2 separate regions of the Homo sapiens genome follow, and region 2 is linked to region 1. Evidence: promoter capture Hi-C in human tissues and cell types (Jung and others, 2019). All regions are on one chromosome and are shown on one strand. Each heading gives the region's core, a stretch centred on a gene start or on the middle of the fragment in contact. The rest is flanking DNA. Distances are from core to core; before and after follow the strand shown.

The links. Contacts are between HindIII fragments. The study calls those that stand out against the background at their distance.
Region 2: a fragment that was not itself captured here is called in contact with the fragment with the promoter of RPP30 in region 1 in 1 of the 25 tissues and cell types used here (mesenchymal stem cells).

Annotation. Positions count from the first base shown.
Region 1 is chr10:90,869,975-90,874,567 of GRCh38, reverse strand. RPP30 (ribonuclease P/MRP subunit p30) reads right to left here and starts at 2,594. Exons shown (of 11, transcript NM_006413.5): 1 at 2,500-2,594. The coding sequence starts at 2,581. RefSeq lists enhancers at 2,284-2,343, 2,474-2,743, 2,462-2,756. The HindIII fragment of the contact is 15,308 bases long and covers 1,619-4,593 here.
Region 2 is chr10:89,573,381-89,577,973 of GRCh38, reverse strand. No RefSeq gene overlaps it. Among named protein-coding and RNA genes, the nearest start is that of MIR107, 17 kb to the left of the region's middle. The HindIII fragment of the contact is 3,395 bases long and covers 702-4,096 here.

The sequences.
Region 1 (4,593 bases), core at 1,345-3,844:
CAGGTCTTTGTTTAACCATTATGAATTATTATTAAAATGATACTAAAGACTCTTAACTTTGTGCTTCTCCTTTTCAAATGTCATTCTCTTTCATGACCCTATATTCATTTTTATCCCATCAAGTTCCTACTTTATCACTGTCACTTTTATTCCCGTTCATTTCTTTTGCTTTTTATCCTTCTACTTCCTTCAGAGACTCCTTTCCTAAGGAGAAATGGAGTGATAACTCCCTCACACCACTGCCCGCTTCCCATTTTAAGCTGCACACCATCGACAGACTGGGAGCTCCTTGAGGTCAAGGGCTTGCTTTATTATCCTCATCAGTTAGCACTGTTCTGGACATTTGGGCTACCAAAAAAAAATCTAAATCATGACTCCCATCTTTAATTTTTAAAAATACCAATGGGGATGAAAGGATATTAACATTAAAATACATATCAATGCCAAACTCTCAACAGTTTGTCCAACTTCCTTCTTCCCTTCCTCCCTCAAATATTTACTGAGCATCCATTACTTGACAAGCCCTAAACTGGTGTTGAGCATACAGGATAAATAATATAATCCTTCTCCACAAGAAATTTACAGCCTAGTCTGTTGGAGAACGAAGGCAAATAAGGCAATTAAGCAAGTCATTGTATATAAATACATGTTTTTTATAAGTAAGGATTCTATGGAAGTACATAGCACAGTGAAACCTGGTGTAGGGGTCACAAAAGGCTCCCTGAAGAAAGTTACCCTTAAAAACAAAAAAAAAATCACAAGTATGCCTGTACCTTGGGCTTCACCTTGCACCCAGTTAGTCAAATCAACCAGCCACACCTCCTCCCTATTCTTCTTTACCACACTCCCAAATCTGCTCTAAACTTCCTTGTTATACCCATTTAGGATATCCTTTTGGCTACTAAACAATGTCCCTACCGTTCTACAGAAATGTCAACTAGGATCTGTTTCTCCACAAAACTTTTTCCTAGACTACTCCTCATCTGGCAGCTTAGGAGTACTTACTTCCCCAATCAGGCTTTAGGGTATTTTAATTTACACAGTATATTTCTGAAGCTTATTATTGGTTTCTTGTATCACATCAGAAACTGAGAACCAGGGCTCTGTCTTTCCTATTCTTTGCAAATGTCCACTATTTAGTTCCAGACTCATCAAATAGCAGAGCAGTCCTTTGTCTTTGACTTGTAAGTTGAGGCAACTTTATATGCCATGAATTCCATTTAATTTACAAACAAATAACCACTAACAATGTACATATATTACCACACCTCTTCCAAGTGTATTTTAAACTGGGGGAAATTCTCTAAAGAAATCATTATTAACTTTTCTTTTTTGTATTAATTTTTTTAATGTGTTCAGTTTATTCCACAAGCATTAACTGAGTAACTGCCATGTACTGGTGCCTGCAGAGTGAACGTGTTAAGCACAGTAAATAAAAGGATAAGACATGGCAATTCTCTTAGGAAGCTCATGATTTATTCAAAAATGGGATGGCGTCAGGAAAAGCCTCATTGAGGAGGTAATAATTGCGACAAACTACACCTAGGAAAACTTATTTTACAGGATCAAAGAACATTAGCGCCAAATGGCCCAGATCATCATGTCTACTTTCGTCTTCGTGCTGATGAGCAAAGTACCACAGAGATAACGTTCATTTAGTGGCAGCAGTGGAAAGGGACAGTCATTTCGCCACGGATACTTCATAAAGAGAACAATAAAAAAGTGGTGTGATTCACTTTGCCAAGAAGTGGTTGTCATTTCTAGCACCACCTCTGAACAGTATCAGTAATCAGAACTCACAATGAGCTGAAAACTGTCTCTGAGGAGCAGATGTTACTACACGAACCTCTTGATTCTTTTTAATCTCTCTATTCCAACACTTTACAGTCTACGGAATACAGAACCCATGACTAACTCCAATAGTTAAAACAGGTTCTCGTCTCTCAAGGCTTTCGCTTCCCTTCGATTTGGGCCATGCTATCCTCCTCCTCCACCTCCACTCCGCTGTGTATGTCCTCTGCCCCCACCTACCCTCTCTCTGTCTAGATAGTATTGTTCCAACACTCCCACGTCCTCCTCCTTCTCCGAGCCTCCACGGCGCTTCCTGTCCGTGCCCCAAATTCCAGTATTTGTTTAGACACTGTCGTGAGAATCAGGAAGGGCTGATAGTAACTTAGAAGCTTAGAAGATTGTACCCTTGGAGTCCAGCTCCGGCTTCTGTCACCTATCAGCTGTAGGCCCCTATGCAAATCCCTCGCCCTCGTTAGGCCTCAGTTCCCTCATTGCAGGAAAGTAGCTGAACCAGATAACAACCCCCAGAACCTTCGAGTTTCCCGCGCTAGGAATCAGACCAACACCTCGGCGGGCATCAGCCTCCAGGGACATCCCAGAGACTCTGGGAGACCTGACCGAGACCCATCAGGAAATAGTTACTCCGGAGTGTGGCCCGATGGTCTGGGTGGCATGAGGTTGGCCAGGCGCGAAGCCGGGGCAACTCACGGTGAGCGGCTGTCTCCACAAGTCCGCGCAGAGCCTTCAGGTCAGAACCCGCTCGCAGGTCCAAATCTGCAAACACCGCCATGCTGAAGTCCCATGACCGTCCGCGCGCGCCAGTCTGCGCAGCCGCTGAGCCCGCCCCTCAGGCATGCTGGGAGCTGTAGTTAACCTGCGCAGTCCGTCTCTACCTCCAGTTGACTAGGGATTCGGAGAAACTTACTTGCTTTGCTTTCATCTACCACCAGAATTTGTGTGTTGAAATCAACAGCTTCATTTCAATCTCTCTTTGTCTTCTTCTGAACGACAATGTTTGGTTCCCCCTGGAGGGGTTCCAATTCCCAACTATTCAATACTCCTATAAAATAGTGTAGAAATGAATTCATTCAAAATGCACGCACACGGTATCTACTTAGTGCTGCTCATGAATCAGAGAATTCTGCTAATGGGTGAAAACGCTATTTAAAGAGTCTTAAAGAACACGTTTTCCTTTCCTTTCCCTAAAGTCCATTCCGTTGTTTACAATGGACTTACCGGGAAGAAGGCGTTTGTGTGTGACGGACTCTAGGACTTCAAAAGAGAACTACCCCAAGACGAGGGTCTTTTTACCCAATCAGAACTGTTGATGTCAAAGCCCGCTATTCTCTGTGGCAGTCAACATCTTCAACCACAAGATGGCGGGACTCGCTCTAGGACGAGCGGTTAGAGCCAACATTGATTTAGCCAAAGACATGTTTGAAAAGGGAGGTGCAAAATTGAGATGTTTTACACTTTTCCAGCTGAGAAATGTACAAGGTGACGCATATCCCACATATCTGATGTTTCCACTTTTTTCCGACTTAGTGTAAATGATCTATTGAGGATAATAATCAATTATACTACAAAAGTGTGACTATAGTTTACATCAGTGCTCTCAAACTACCTGTGATGAAGGATCAGTTTCTCCCTCCTTTTCCTCTACCCCCAAACTCTTCGCGAACCAGGATGTGGTCCTTTATGCATTACCAGTAAGCAGCCTGGCCTCATGGGAATCACAAATTTGACAACACTCGAACTGCCCTATACCTGGCTGAATAGAATCTGCTGATCAGGAGCTTGGATTATCAGGACAATGCCAAAGTACTGTAAACTTTCTAAACATCTTCACTTTTTGTTTGTTTGTTTGTTTTATTAACGTGCGCACAGCAACAACAATCACAGAATTAGAGGCTCGGTCATTTGACCTAGGGAGTATCCTAGTTGGTGGCCTGCTGAGTTTTCGTTTCGTTTTGTTTTGTTTTTAGAGAGAGTATCTCGTTATTGACCAGGATGGACTCTAACGCAAGCAATCCTCTCTCCTAGCTGTGATTACAGGAGCCCACCCACATGCTTCACCCATCAATTTCTCTTATTTACTGATCACAAACAGTTCACAGATAGTCTCTCGTCTATGGACCACACCTTAACTAGTACTCCTTTATGCGATTTTCTTGTCGGTCTCAGAAGGGAGGAAGGATCTGTTCCATGCAGTAGCATGCAATTCTCTTCTTGGTTAACTTTTGTAAAGAAGAGATATTTTGCCTTTTCCAGTACTTGATATTTCCTAAGTGGGAGTAGAAGAGAATATTACTTCTGCAAATAGAATAAGGTCATATGAAGCAAACGCTTTGTTTTTCATGAGAATATCTAGTGTTAATTTTGCAGGGTCACACAGGCATCATCACCTATGACCATAACAATCTAGATTGGTCAGAAATATGACCAATGTGTGGTGAAGGTGAATAAGGTGATAGTTCAATTATTTTTTCATTTTTAGTTGACACATTGTAATTATACATATTTATAGGGTACAATTTCATGTTCTGATACATGTATATGTTGTATAATGAACAAATCAAGGTAATTAGCATATTCATCACCTCATGCATTTTTGGTGATAACATTAAAAAAAACTCTTCTAGCTGTTTCGTGATATATAAACAATACCTTACTGTTAACCATAGTCACCTTGTGTGCAATACAACATCAGAACTTATTCCTCCTATCTAACTTTGTACCTGTTGACCAACCTCTCCCCATCCTCCTCCCTCAATCCCTCCCTCAATACCAATCAGTTGGCTA
Region 2 (4,593 bases), core at 1,150-3,649, 1.3 Mb after region 1:
TTTTCCCAGATTGTGCCCATTTCATGTCTGTTTGTCGCATTTTGATAATTCTTACAATATTTCAGACTTTTTCTTTATTATTATAATTGTTATGGTGATTTGTGATCGGTGATCTGTGATCAGTGATTGTTTTCTGGTGCCACAAATGTAAGACACTGAACTTAATCGGTATGTGTTGCGTTTTGACTGTTCCACTGACCTGCAGTTCTCCTATCTCTCTCCCTCTCCTCAGGCCTCCCTATTCCCTGAGACACAAAAATGATGAAATTAGCCCACTTACAAACCCTACAATGGCCTCTAAGTGTCCAAGTGAAAGGAAAAAATCACACATCTCTCATTTATTAGAAACTAGAAATGATTAAGCTTAGTGAGGAAGGCATGTTGAAAGCTGAAATAGGCTAAAATCTAGGCCTCTTGTGCCAGTTAGCTAAGTTGTGAATACAAGGAAAAGTTCCTGAAGGAAATTAAAAGTACACTCTAGTGAACACACAAATCATAAGAAAGCAAAACAGCCTTGTGGCTGATATTAAGTTTTATGTCTGGATAAAAGATCAAACCAGGCACAACATTCCCTTAAGCCAAAGCCTAATCCAAAGCCAAGCTCTAATTCTCTTCAGTTCTTTGAAGTCTGAGAGAGGTGAGAAAGTGGCAGTAGAAAAGTTGGAAGTTAGCAGAGGTTGGTTCATGAAGTTTAAGAGCAGAAGTTGTCTCCATAACATAAAAGTACAAGGTGAAGCAGTAAGTTATCCAGAAAATGTAGCAAAGATCATTGATGAAGGTGGTAACACTAAACAACAGATTCTCAATGTACACAAAACAGCTTTCTATTAGAAGAAAAGACGACCTCGGACTTTCCTAACTAGACATGAGAAGTCAATGTGTAGTTTCAAAATTTCAAAAGACAGGCCGACTCTCTTTTTAGAGGCTTATGCAGCTGGTGACTTGAAGGTGAAGCCAATGCTTATTAACCATTCTGAAAATGCTAGGGCCCTTAAGACTTATCTCCTCTGCCTGTGCTCTATAAACGGAACAACAAAGCTTGGATAACAGCACATCTATTTATAGCATGGTTTCCTGAATATTTTAAGCTCATTGTTGAGACCTGCTTCTCAGAAAAAAGATTCCTTTCAAAAGATTTCTTTCATTGACAATGCACCTAGTCACTCAGGAACTCTGATGTAAATGTACAAAGAGATTAATGTTTTCCTACTTGCTAATCCAATATCCATTCTACAGCCCACAGATCAGGGAGTAATTTCAATGTTCAAGTTTTATTATTTAAGAAATACATTTTGTAAGGCTATGGCTGCCATAGATACTGATTCCTCTTATGGGTCTAGGCAAAATAAGTTGAAAACTGTCTGGAAATGTTTTACTATTCTGGATGCCGTTAAGAATATATGTGATCCATGGATGGAGGTCAAAATGCCAACACTAACTGGAGTTTGGAAGAAGTGGATTCCAACCCTCACGGATGAATTTGAGGGGTTCAAGACTTCAGTGGAGAAAGTCACTGAAGATGAGGTAGAAATAGCAAGAGAACTAGAATTAGAAGTGGAACCTGAAGAGATGACTGAATTTCTGCAGTCTCATGATAGAACTTGAAAGGATGAGGAGTTGCTTCTCACGGACAAGCAAAGAAAGTGGTTTCTCGAGATGGAATCTACCCCTGGTGAAGACACTGTAAACATTGTTGAAATGACAACAAAGGATTTAGAATATTGCATAAATTCAGGTGATAAAGCATCGGCAGGGTTGGAAAGGATTGACCTCAATTTTGAAAGTCCTGTTGTGGGTAAAATGCCATCACATGACATCACATGCTGCAGATAAATCTTTTGTGAAAGAAAGAGTCAACAAATGTGGCAAACTTCATTTTTGTCCTATTTTAAGAAATTGCCACAACCTTCAGCAACCACCACCTTGATGTCAGCAGCCAAATACATTGAGATGAGACCCTCTACCAGCAAATAATTAGTACTGGCTAAAGGCTCAGATGATTATTAGCATTTTTTGGCAGTAAAGTATTTTTGAAATTAAGGTATCTATATTTTTTAACACAATGCTATTGCAAACTTAACAGACTATAGTATATTCTAAACATAACATGTACATCTGCTGGGAAACAAATTCATGTGACTTGATTGCCTGGGTCTGAAAACAAAGTTGCAATTTCTCCAACATATGCCTATATATTAATGAAATATATAAAAAGCAATGTAAATTAGAAGACTGAAAAGAACCATTGGAATATAGCACAAAACTGAAATTATATATGTTAATTGGATGTTTTTTTTTTGACCTGTGTGGTATTATTTTCAATTTTGTAAAATATTCCACTTGTTACTTTTGCTTTTCCACTAGTTTTTTTCCTTGTACATTTCTTGAATTATGACATTTCTGGAATCAACCACTAAGCACATTTAGTCAAACGTGTGTGGCCCACAGTTGGTGTGGTTAATACTAAGGGCACTGTGACATAAATTCAAGTAGCCTCAATACCATTTGCGTAATTTGTTTTAACAGATGGATTTTCTTTTTAAATTTTTTGCAGTTATGGCTTAAGGAGAGTTTAAAATTTTCTTTTAGGCTATAAGGCAACCAGAAAGAATTAGACAGTTTTTGTATTGGATTGTTCTTCTCTTTTCTCTTCCACTTCACTTTGTTCATGAAATTTGCTGTTGCTATTTTAGCAAAGTTCAACATCTAAAGAATTTATGCCATTTGGCTGCCATGACACAGATATAAATTATGTTTGTTTTACCACATTCCATAGTGAGGTAGGTGGTGTATGTCTTCTCATATATCTTGAAAATATATGTAAAATTTAATTTTAAAGACAACTTAAACTTTAAAATAATTATTTTTCATTAACTACTCAAGCTTATTTATCCTGACATATGAAATATATTTTCATGATATATTCTTAAACTTTTCTAGCATTCATATTCTCTATGCATATTTGGATGTGTACGTGTTTTTGGCATATTGGGGAAGAGATAGTTAATCCTGCAAGTTGTGGATCTAGAGTTTGTATTAAAATTATTATTTAGGAAGAGTACATTTTTAAGCTTAATATTTGAACAGTTTGTCAAATGTCACTTTATTTTAAATATAAGCCAAAAGTATTTTTGAATTAAGCTCCATAAGTGGGTTGAAATTTGGTAAATTAAACATTATTGTGAATTTTAAACATTTTTAGGCATTCTCCTTTGAGATTTGTTTACTATTTATATTGGCTTTATACATTTTAAAATGAGCAGTCACTTTTCTGTCTGTCTGTTCATGTGCCAACATCAACATTGAATTTATCAAGTAGTTATTTATACAATGTTTAGACAGGCAAAATGAAATGGAGAAGTGGGGCAATTATCTGTAGATCCCACCCACACAACTTTCAGCAACTCTAGAGAAAATGGTGTGGTTGTCCAGAACAATTGAGTTTTGTTGGCTGTGCCCTGAACATTTAGTCAATTACACAATTCTTCGTGTCCTTTAGCCTGTGTTTCTACAGTCCCTGTCTGACCTCAGCTGCTCATGGTAGTCTTCTGTGGTCCTTAATTAACTATGAAGATTATCTCAGCAAAATCAAGCTGTAGGGGTCTTTGTCCATGGAATGTTAAGGACCATTTCATCTATGGCATAATCCATTTTAATGGCCATAGAGAGAGATTTTATGAAGATATAGCCACACTTAGAAATTAACTGCCTGGCGCGGTGGCTCACGCCTGTAATCCCAGCACTTTGGGAGGCCGAGGCGGGAGGATCACGAGGTCGGGAGATTGAGACCATCCTGGCTAACACGGTGAAACCCCATCTCTAACTAAAAATACAAAAAAAAATTAGCCAGGTGTGGTGGCGGGTGCCTGTAGTCCCAGCTACTCAGGAGGCTGAGACAGGAGAATGGCGTGAACCCAGGAGCAGTGAGCTGAGATCGCACCACTGCACTCCAGCCTGGGTGACAGAGCAAGACTCCGTCTCAGAAAAAAGAAAAAAAAGAAAAAGAAATGAGAAATTAACACTTTAAAAAAGGTATATAGTGTTAGGATTTGAAGTTTTAAAATAAAACACCATGGCATGCATAGTTTTTGGAAGCCAAACAAATTCTAAATACACTGGTATTCAAACTTTTAAGATGTAGAGATTTAGTAATTCATTAGTATTAATTATTGAATAATTGCTACTTATGTTTTAGTGTCAGTTTTTATTCATTGATCCAGTCCTGCAGAAGAGACTTTGGAAGCATTAACTGCATCTTGCATTTCAACTCAGGAGAAGTTCATTTTAATTACTAAGGAGTAGTTGCAAAATAGGTTCAAGGCCACTCCCAAAATAAACCTACCAAGTTTGAGAAGTGAAAATTACACTTTTTGCTATTATTCTAATTTTTAAACTTCTAAATAAATGTTGAACAACTATTTGGAGAATATCAGTAAAAAAGGTGCCAAATTATTAACCTGCATTGAACTTTCACAAGTTCTGACCTGGCACTGGATGGAGAGGTAGAGCTTGGACCAGAAGTGACCTTTAATATCCTTCCCAACCCAGAGCTTCTGTGAGTGTGAGAACTGGGCCTTGACCCTGCCCTTTACA